Linked DNA regions of Homo sapiens: region 1 is linked to region 2. The links are contacts of gene promoters, found by promoter capture Hi-C in human tissues and cell types (Jung and others, 2019). All regions are on one chromosome and are shown on one strand. The core of a region is centred on a gene start or on the middle of the fragment in contact, and the rest is flanking DNA. Distances in the headings are between cores, read along the strand shown.

Region 1 (2,919 bases), core at 420-2,919, 240 kb before region 2:
TCCAGCACTTCCTGGATTCCTACCAGGTCATGTTCTTCACGCTCTTCGCCCTGTTGGCTGGGACAGCGGTCATGATCATAGGTGAGGAGGCTGCCTGTATCTCTGGGTCTGTTCCCCTGCCCCGACCTGCTCTAACCAACCCTGTGCTCTTGCAGCCTACCACACTGTCTGCACGCCCCGGGATCTTGCTGTGCCTGCAGCCCTCACGCCTCGAGCCAGCCCTGGACACAGCCCCCACTGTGAGTAGCCCCCCTGCAGGCACAACCAGGCAGAGCTGCTGAGAAAGAGAAGAGCCCTGGGGGAGGGGTCGAGGCTCCTGAACCCTAAGTCTCAACAGGCCCTTGCCTGGGCCAAAGGAGCCTGAGGCCCAGAGGACAGATGTGGGAGCCAGGAGGGTCGGGGCAGAGGGGCTGCCAGTCCTGGTTCAGCAAGAGCTTTCCCCAGGTAGAGCCATGCTGGGTGGAGGTATGGGCAGCAAGGAGCTCTGTCTAGGCAGGAGTGCATGCTAGGACTGGATGCCCAATTGCTGAGGCTGCCTCAGAAGGCTCTAAGCTGGGGTTGGACGAGCTGACTCACAGATGGGGATTCTGGGTAGTTCTGATGAGAAATTTCCCAGAAGAATGGGCAAAGTCATTTATTTCAATGGTCTAACTGTCTCTCTGGTGACCCCGAAGCCCTGGTGACCCTGCACAGCTCCAGGGAGCACCTCACTGTGTGAATGTAGTTTCTCTCTCAAACAATGCAGTGCCCAGCCTGTACTGCTGTACGTGAAGGCCCTTTAATGTCTCCTGATTCCCATTTGAGGGTTCTCTCCCCTACACAAAGAGTCCTCGAGCTCGTGTCTGCTGACATGGGGGCCCATGGACCGGCTTCAGGGGGGTCCCTGAATTTTTTTGAAAGAAGACCCAGTTGTGTGGGTAGAAGCACTTTCCTGGGTAAGGAGAGCCCACACGCCCTTGTCTTCTGCCTGACGACTTCTCTACCTGCAAAGCGGCACCCAGGGGAGGCCACGGGTGCTCGGCCTCCTCGCGGCTCTGCTGCCTTCTGCAGCTGCTCTGGCAGCAGGTGCCTGCCCTTTCTAGCTGCCTCTCTCAGCGTGCTCCTCCCTGGGTTTTGGGAGCCACACCTGGATCTCTGCAAGGTCTCCGGAGCACTGCAGAATCGCTGCTCCCCTCGGGGTCTTTGTTCCTGTGGCGCTCTTGCCCGAGGCTGCATTGCATTCAGATGCACGGGGCCTCCCTGCCTCATGCCCCCTGGACAGATGCTGCTGTGGTCCTGAAACTTGAGACACGTTCTCCCCGGAAGGCTCTGCGCTCCTGGGTGTTAGGGTGGCATCCCAGGCCTCTCTGTGTGAATGAGGCCAGCTCAGCAGGTGCCCGTGGACTTCCCTCTGCTGGCCGGGGAGGCCTCGGGGCATCACTGTGAGAGTGTCCTGGGTGAGGCAGGCGCCTGCTGAATGCTGGCTGTAACTGAAGAGTGCGCCGCTTTCCCTGGCTCTGCTGCTAACATCGTCTCTCTTCCCACCCTAGATTTCGCTGCCTCATCACCCACATCTCCCAATGCATTGCCTCCTGCTCGCAAAGCCAGCCCTCCCTCAGGGCTGTGGAGCCCAGCCTATGCCTCCCACTAGGCCGCGTGAAGGTTCCCGGAGGATGGGTCTCAGCCGAGCCTCGTGCACCCCCAAGATGGAACATCCCTGCTGCATTCACACTGGAACAAGCCCCTCCAGATGAGTGCCCCGGCCCCAGGCCAGCTTCACTGCCGTCTCTTCACACAGAGCTGTAGTTTCGGCTCTGCCCATTAGCTCATTTTATGTAGGAGTTTTAAATGTGTGTTTTTTTCCTTTCAAGTCTTACAAAGCTAAGACTTTTTGGCTCATTCCTTTTTGCATGGTTGTCTAGGGTTTCTGGACAATGTGCTGTTGCATTTTTATTTTCCTAGCCTTGCTAAAATCTTTCCCTTCTCAAGACTTTGAGCAGTTAGAAGTGCTCTTTAGAAGTTGTCTGTGGGTGATGTTACTGTAGTGGTCTCAGGGAAAGGATTGTCCAGTTACTTTAGGGGGTTTTTGGTGGGGTTTTTCCCCCTGTGAAAACTTACTTTGCCCCTAGTCTGGCTGCTGCTAGGACTTCTGAGGAGCAATGGGACATGAGTGTCCCTGTATCTGCGCCACTGCCGCAAGGGAAGCCTCAGGAACCAGCACCTGGAGGCCAGGATAGCCAAGCCCTGGGTGAGCGAGAGGCTGGAGAACACAGGAGCTCACCCAGGGCTGCTGCCCAACCATGGGCCACTGTGAACAGACTTCAGTCCTCTGTTTTTGTTTCATAAGCCGTTGAGACATCTGATGGACTTGGCTTAGGCCCTGCTGGGACATCCCACGTGTGATCCCTTTCACTCCATCAGGACACCAGGACTGTCCTTAGGAAAATGTCCTTGAGATGGCAGCAGGAGTCATATTTTCTGTGTGTGTGTTTCGGAAAGCCGCTGTGTCCTGCCTCAGCACAAAGACCCAGTGTCATTTGCTCCTCCTGTTCCTGTGCCACTCCAGAACCTCAGCAGATCTGAGCCACCGCCTGCCAGTGTGAGAGGCGGCCACTTTCATGGCAGCTCATCAGGCGCAGGGCCCCAGACAGCTTCCCAGCAGGCCCTAGAGCCCGGCCTGGGCCAATGATGGAGGGCGGCCGCCAGCCCAGGGCCTGCCCATCCAGAAGGGACTCCCCAGGGCCTGGGGGAGGAGACCCTTGGAAAAGTCCTCTCTTCCCAGCTCCTGATTCTGGATCTGAGATTCTCAGATCACAGGCCCCTGTGCTCCAGGCCGAGGCTGGGCTACCCTCAGGGAGATCCAGAGACTCATGCCCATGGCCATCCATGCGTGGACGCTGTGTGGAGAGTCCAGGATGACGGGATCCCGCACAAGCTCCC
Region 2 (6,272 bases), core at 3,605-6,104:
TTCAGGGGCCTCTCACAGGCTCCTGAGTAGAGGCTTAGAAGCACAGGGGCTGCTCTAGGTGCCCTCTGCTCATGTGTTCACTGGTTCTCTCCCCAGGGGAGCAGGACTCTTGAGTCCTGCAGCAGCCGAAGCATCTCAAGCAGCATCTGTCTCCCACGCCCCCTTCCTCCAGCCAGCGTGGCCCCGTGCAGCGTGAGCTCCTGCAGGGAGTGTCTGCAGGGCCACAGCTCCCTCACTCATCCGCGGCCCCAGCAGGCTCCATTGGCCACGGCCGTCCTTGGCACAGTCAGCAGCAAACCTGGCAAGGCGGCAAGTGGGGACCGATGCCAGCCCTCGTGGCTTTCAGATCTCCATCAGCCAGGACTCCAAAATAGCATCGAGAAGCAGTGGATGTGCTCCATTTCAGGAGCATATCAAGGACTGCTGCTCAACTGTTATAGGGCCAGGGTCTGATCTTCTCCCCCAAGACAGGGGACAGGGCACCTCAGTGATACTTGGTTTGCTGCAGAGGGAGGTGTTTGCCAGGCTTCCAGAAGCCCACACACATTTCCAGAGATAATTGCTTCCGGCTGCTTCCTCCCTCCGTCAGCCACCTGCACGTGAGGGGTGGGGCTGGGCAGAGATGTTAGGAGGGCCCTGCACGAGCCTGCCAGCGAGGTCCTCCCAGCACCAGAGCCCGAGCCCATGTCTATGATTAGAAAAGCCTGTGATTTGGGAACTCAGCATGGAAGAGTCTGTGGTTTAGAGATTCCATGATTCAGTCTTCCAGACATAATGCCGAGTGGGGAAAGAGTTGCAGAAAAAGATATGCAATGTGATCCTACTTATGTAAAGTTTAAAAACGTGCACAAGTGTTTATATGGTTTGTGGATACCTCTCTATGCAGGAGATTCACTACAGAGTGAATTCACCATGGGGATGGGAGGAGGGCAGGGCTGGCGAGGGGATTTAACAGAGGTGGTGACCCTGGGCTTCCATCATATTCGTCATGTTCTGTTTCTTGTAGTGGGTCAGGGGTATATCAGAGTTCACGGTATTCATCTTTATGCCTTTTGGCACATTTTAAATCTTTTATTAAAAAATTCTTAATATTCTGGGTTTGGTGGTGCATGCCTATAGTCCCAGGCTAAGGCAGGAAGATCGCTGAGCCCAGGAGTTTGAGGCTGTAGTGTGCTATGGTTGCTCCCGTGAAAGCCACTGCACTCCAGCCTGGGCAGCATAGTGAGACCTTGTCTTTAAAAAAAAAAAAAAAGAAAGAAAGAAATTTGTAAAATGATGCCATTTTTTTTAGGGTCTATGTAATACTTCCTATTTTCTATAGGCATATATATGTAGATAAATGCATAGAAAAAGTTCTGGAAGGATCCACTCCAAACAGATGACAGCGGTCACCTCTGCAGAGATTGGAACGGGGAATAAGATTTAGGAGGGTGGGAGGTAAAGGGGGCTTTATTTTGTTTAAAGAGAATACATTTTCTTATCATTTGTGCAGTTAGGATTTCATTTCTTTAAAATGTGAAGCTTCAGCTAAAAGAAAATAAAGTCCCCAGACTTGAAGACTGTGTGGTCCTGAGATTTAGAGTCAGAGTGTTGACGGCTTTGCAGTTCCACAGTTGGAACGGAGCAGCGGGGGTGGGGGGTTCACTTCTGCCCAGCCCTGGATGAAGATCCTGAATCCCTGGGATTCGGGGCTCCCTGCCTTGAAGAGCTCTGTGACTGTCAGATCTGTGGACTGCATGCTCCAACCTTCTCCGTCCTCCCTCTTCCCAAATGCTGTCATGTTCCTCCCACCTTGGGGACAGATGGCCGCAGGTTGCAGGAGTGAGCCGATCTGCAGGAATGTTCCTGCCAGCCTGCAGGGTGGAAATTTTCCCGTTGAGGGAAGGGAGATGGATGTGAGATGTTTCTGGACTTACCCCTTGGCAGCTGCTCTCACCTTCTGATCCAAGCGGCTTCCCACAGTCCACAATGATGAGGCAAGGGCAGGGGTGAACTTGGGCACTTACAGAAACTCCAGGGGATGAAAACGCTGTCTGAATGCTAGGTTCCCACTGTGCCTTAGTCTCCAGCCTGCAGAGGTGGGTGAGTGGGTGGATGATTCTGTGATATAACCAGGGTCACAGGGCAGCAACCCCAAGGCTGGCTGCCCCTGCTTCCCACTCCAGACATCTGGTTACAACTGCGAAAGTGAGGAAAGTGGACAATTCCATCCAGAGTTCTGTAGCTCCACTTCTTATGTGATCAGGACCCTCTCACGACCACAGGCTTTGCATCTGGGAGGTGTGGCTGACAAATCTGCCCTGAGATTGGATGTCGAGGGCTTGGGGTCATGAGGTAGGTGAAGCTCAGCCTGCACAGGTGGGCGCGCCCCTTTTCTGAGACTCTCTGACCTCTCACTGCCTGAAGGGATGAACTTGTGGGTTCCGTAGTCAGAGATCAGAGTCGGAATCCCAGCTCCACGCTTTTTGGAGCCTCCTCTGTGCCTGGTCCGGCGCTGGATATTGAATGTCAGAAATCAAAACCGCGCCAGTGCAGGTGGGTTGTAGGCACTACCCACGTGCCCTGTAAATGATGTTTTGTAAAAGCCTAAAATCTTGGCATTTGTATCTGAATGCCAGGGTCCTTGCCATTTCCTCTGCTTTGAAATAACAGCATAACATGGAAGGAAAAGGAGAGTACGTTTATAAGAAGAAGTGCTGAAGAAGCAACGGATGTGCAGATGCATGTCATGGGCCTCCCAGGGAGCAAAAGAGGAAGCCCAGGAAAGGGACACTGGGTGCTCCACACTCAAGGCATCCAATTCACCACTCTGAGCCTGTTTCCGCCTCTGGAAGATGGAAGTGAGAAGAGAATCGCTAGTTGAGCAAGGCGGCTGAGAGGGGCATTGCTCTAGCCCGAGCCAGGCTGTGAGTTAGTCTGGGCTCTGCTGCTGCCTTGATGGGAGACCCCCGTATGTGGTGCAACCCATCTAAGCAGGAGTGGTAATTATGTTCACTTCGTAGGGCGCTTCTGAGAATTCACTGAGACCATGAAACAACTGGACCTGACACAAAGTGAGCCCTCCTGATGCAGTGGCTGAATTTTGATGTTATTAAAATCTTTTGAAACTCCAGTGAGGAGAGGGGTGGGGTGGGCTCTGCAACATGTTAACCCACAGAAATATGAATTCCTCACATGACTCAGGGAGGGAGGTCCGTGCTACAGGAAGATTGGTCATGCATATGGATTCACCTGGAGAGGGCAGATCGGGAAGCGTCATGCAGTTCTGTTCGATGCCTCACCTTGGCCACCTGAGGCCGCAGCTCCAACCTCTGCTCCCTACCAGGACACTGAGCTGGAAGACTGGGGTCCTAGTCCCACCTCTGCCACTCTTTGCTGTGCAACTTTAGGCAAATCGCTCACCCCCTGAGGTTCATTTCCTCCCCTGTAAAGGATGGAATGGAACTCAAGGATGCAGCATCACTCCTTCTAAATTCGGTGAGTGTGAATCTGGAGAGAATGGAAAGAGGAAGGGAAATGGCCCTGTGGGCTGCCATCCACATCCAGCCGATTCCCAGTCTCAACTACTCCCTCTCTCATTTATTCCTCCCAGTGAGGCAGCTTTCAAGCAGTCAAGAACCAAGACTCTGGAGCCAGACTGCCCGCCAGCTATGTGGCTTGGGCCAGTTGCTGAACCTCTGGCTTTAATGCGCTCCCCCGTGAAGTAGGATGATAGTATTAGGCCTCATTGGGGTTGTCTTGAGGATTACCGTGCACGGAAGAATATTATCTACATGCCTCTGAGATAGGTCTGGGATTCCTGGTTTACAGATGAGGAAGCAGAGAGGATCAGATGAACATCAGACAGGAAGAGAGAAATCTGTGTGGGAAAGGCGGGTGTGGGAGCCGAGGATGGATGTGCGCTTCTCCCCTCCACCTCCCTGTCGCACACTGCACCACGCTGGCCTCCTCTGGGCCAGTCAAATACACCAGGCTGCCTTCCGCCTCAGAGCCTTGACGCCAGCTCCTCCCCTGCTTCTTGCGTCATCCGAGTCTCAGCCACACGTGCCTCACAGAGGGCCTTCCCGACCACCCCGTCTGATGGCAGAAGCCTCCTTCCCGCCTCTCTTGGGGTCCCTGCCTCCCCTCTTCCTGCTCTCTTTTCATCCTGATCCTTATCACCACGTGCAATCCTATATCTGCACACTTACTTCCTGGCTTCCCCTTAGACTGTAAACATCATGAGGGCAGATACTTGCCCGGCACATGGAAGGTCCTCGGGAGAGGAAGAGGCACCATAGCTAGACCAGAAATTCTCCCTAGCCACGTGCAGCCCCCTTTGGGACAGGACTGGCACAAACGAGGACTGCTCTGCCATCCACCGTGCAGCTACTGGCGTGGTGCGCCCTCCTGGAACCCCGTGGTATAGCTGTTATGATCCCTTTCACAGTAGCATAATCAAGACTCCCAGGAGAGACGCGGCTTGCCAAGGTCTCATCGCCCTTCAGTGGCAGAGACAGCCTTGGAGTCGGCCGGCCTCACTCCAGGGCCAGAGCCCCGAGAGCTCCGCGGCTCGCGTGTCTCAGTGCCGAAGGCAGAAAAGCCGCCTTGGAAAGTAGTGTCATCGTAGGCTCCGCGCGGCGCGTGCATTTTAGCAACAGACTTCCAGGTTTCCAGCGCGGGCCAGGAAGGGGCCGGCGCCCCGCGCCCCGCCGGGTGTGTGACTTTGCCGCGAGGGCGCAGCCGAGCGGCCGCGCCTGATGCTGCTGTTGCCATGGCGACCAGCGCCTCGGCGATTGGTCCGGCGCGGCCGCACTACGTTGCTCCTTGGGCGCGGGGGGTGGGGGAGGCTCCGGCGCGCCCGCCCCTTCTCCGGATGCTGCGAGAGCAAACCCGGGGCAGCCTTCTCTCGACCCTCCCCTCCTCATCCCCGCGCCCCGCACCCCGGATGGACGGGAGGGAAAAACCCCAAGGTGGGCCCAGGTAGCAGCGAGGTGGACGCCCCCGCCCAGCCTGGCGACCACGGTTACTCGACGTCCTCGCTCGCTCCTGGGCACGGTGTGAGCGCGCGCTACGTGCCAGGGCCCTCCACAGCCCGCTGCTGGCGCCGCCCCCCGCTCCCGCCCCAGCCTCCCTGGAGGAGCCCGCCACCCCCGGGAATGTGACTCGCCCCGCGATTTAATTTTATTCCCCTCCACTTCTTGCCTGAGCCGCCTGCTCCTCTTGGAAACACGTTGAGCCTCCCCGCTGGAGAGGGAGCCAGAACAGGGAAGAACGGATTCACACAGGATGGCTTGCAGAAGACGCTATTTGTGAGTATATGTGGCAGGTTTCTGCCTGAAGCCAGAGGCCAGAGGGGCCCGGCTGAGCTGGGAGCTGGAGTGAGGGGCATCGTTGGGGGAGGGGCAGGTGGATGTGCAGGTGACTTGCAGAGGGAGCTGGCCACCCAGCAGGGATGCCGGCGCTCGGCCCCTGCAGCGGAGGTGTTTGTTGGTGATGACGATGAGAAAAAGGCTATTAGTCAGCAGGTCTTCAGCAGGCTGTGAAATTCCCAACTGTGAGAGCAGGTATCCCCCCTCCCAGATCCACATTCAGGGTGCCCAGACCGGCTCCTACTGTTTTGGCTTTGGTTTAGCCCATAGCCTGTTTAGGAAGAGAATCTCTGCCCAGCACGCCCATGGCCAGCCCTTCAGCCATGCCTGATAGAAGGTCGCAGGCAGGCTGAGGCAGTGGCCAGGATGCTGCGTCCTCCAAGGGCAGGTGAAGGTCCAGCCCACCGTCCCTAGCACGGAGGCATCAGTGTCCAGCTGTGTGCCCAGGTGTTCTGTGGGCTGGCAGCAGAGCGGCTGTGTGCTGGGCCTCACGCCAGCAGCAGAGGCTGTGAAAGTCTGCACGGGGCGGTGACATCACGGGCCCGGGTATTTATGGAAACCAAAGCCTGCGCTTCGGTTAGCCAGGCTTCCCAGGGGGCAGTGGGGTTCGAATGCCAGCTTCCCTCACAGCTCTCTGGGCGCTGCACTGTGCTGTTCTAGGAGGAGCAACCTTTGCCCTCCTCTGGGACCCTCGGCTGCGGGGGTTGAGGCCCAGCGTCAGGTCTCCACCTGCCTAAACTATTTGCCCAGGACCCACTCATTTGGGGCTGTGCAGTGACCTCAGACCTTAGGAGGTTAGAGAGCATGGCTGAGTCCTCTTGAGCTGGGCTCAGTCGCAAGGCTAGGAAAAGGAGGCCTGGAGCAGTATGTGGGGAGCCTTCTGGGGGCTACCCCAAGGCCTCCCTAATCGATGGAGGCCCC

The links. Contacts are between HindIII fragments. The study calls those that stand out against the background at their distance.
Region 1: a contact is called between a fragment that was not itself captured here and the fragment with the promoter of IQSEC1 in region 2, in 2 of the 25 tissues and cell types used here (dorsolateral prefrontal cortex and spleen).

Annotation. Positions count from the first base shown.
Region 1 is chr3:13,316,392-13,319,310 of GRCh38, reverse strand. It overlaps NUP210 (nucleoporin 210), which reads left to right. Exons shown (of 40, transcript NM_024923.4): 38 at 1-81; 39 at 156-239; 40 at 1,530-2,919. The coding sequence ends at 1,630. Among named protein-coding and RNA genes, the nearest start is that of NUP210, 100 kb to the left of the region's middle. The HindIII fragment of the contact is 8,541 bases long and covers 1-2,919 here.
Region 2 is chr3:13,072,011-13,078,282 of GRCh38, reverse strand. It overlaps IQSEC1 (IQ motif and Sec7 domain ArfGEF 1), which reads left to right and starts at 4,854. Exons shown (of 14, transcript NM_001134382.3): 1 at 4,854-5,291. The coding sequence starts at 5,269. RefSeq lists silencers at 4,479-4,658, 4,779-4,938. The HindIII fragment of the contact is 23,458 bases long and covers 1-6,272 here.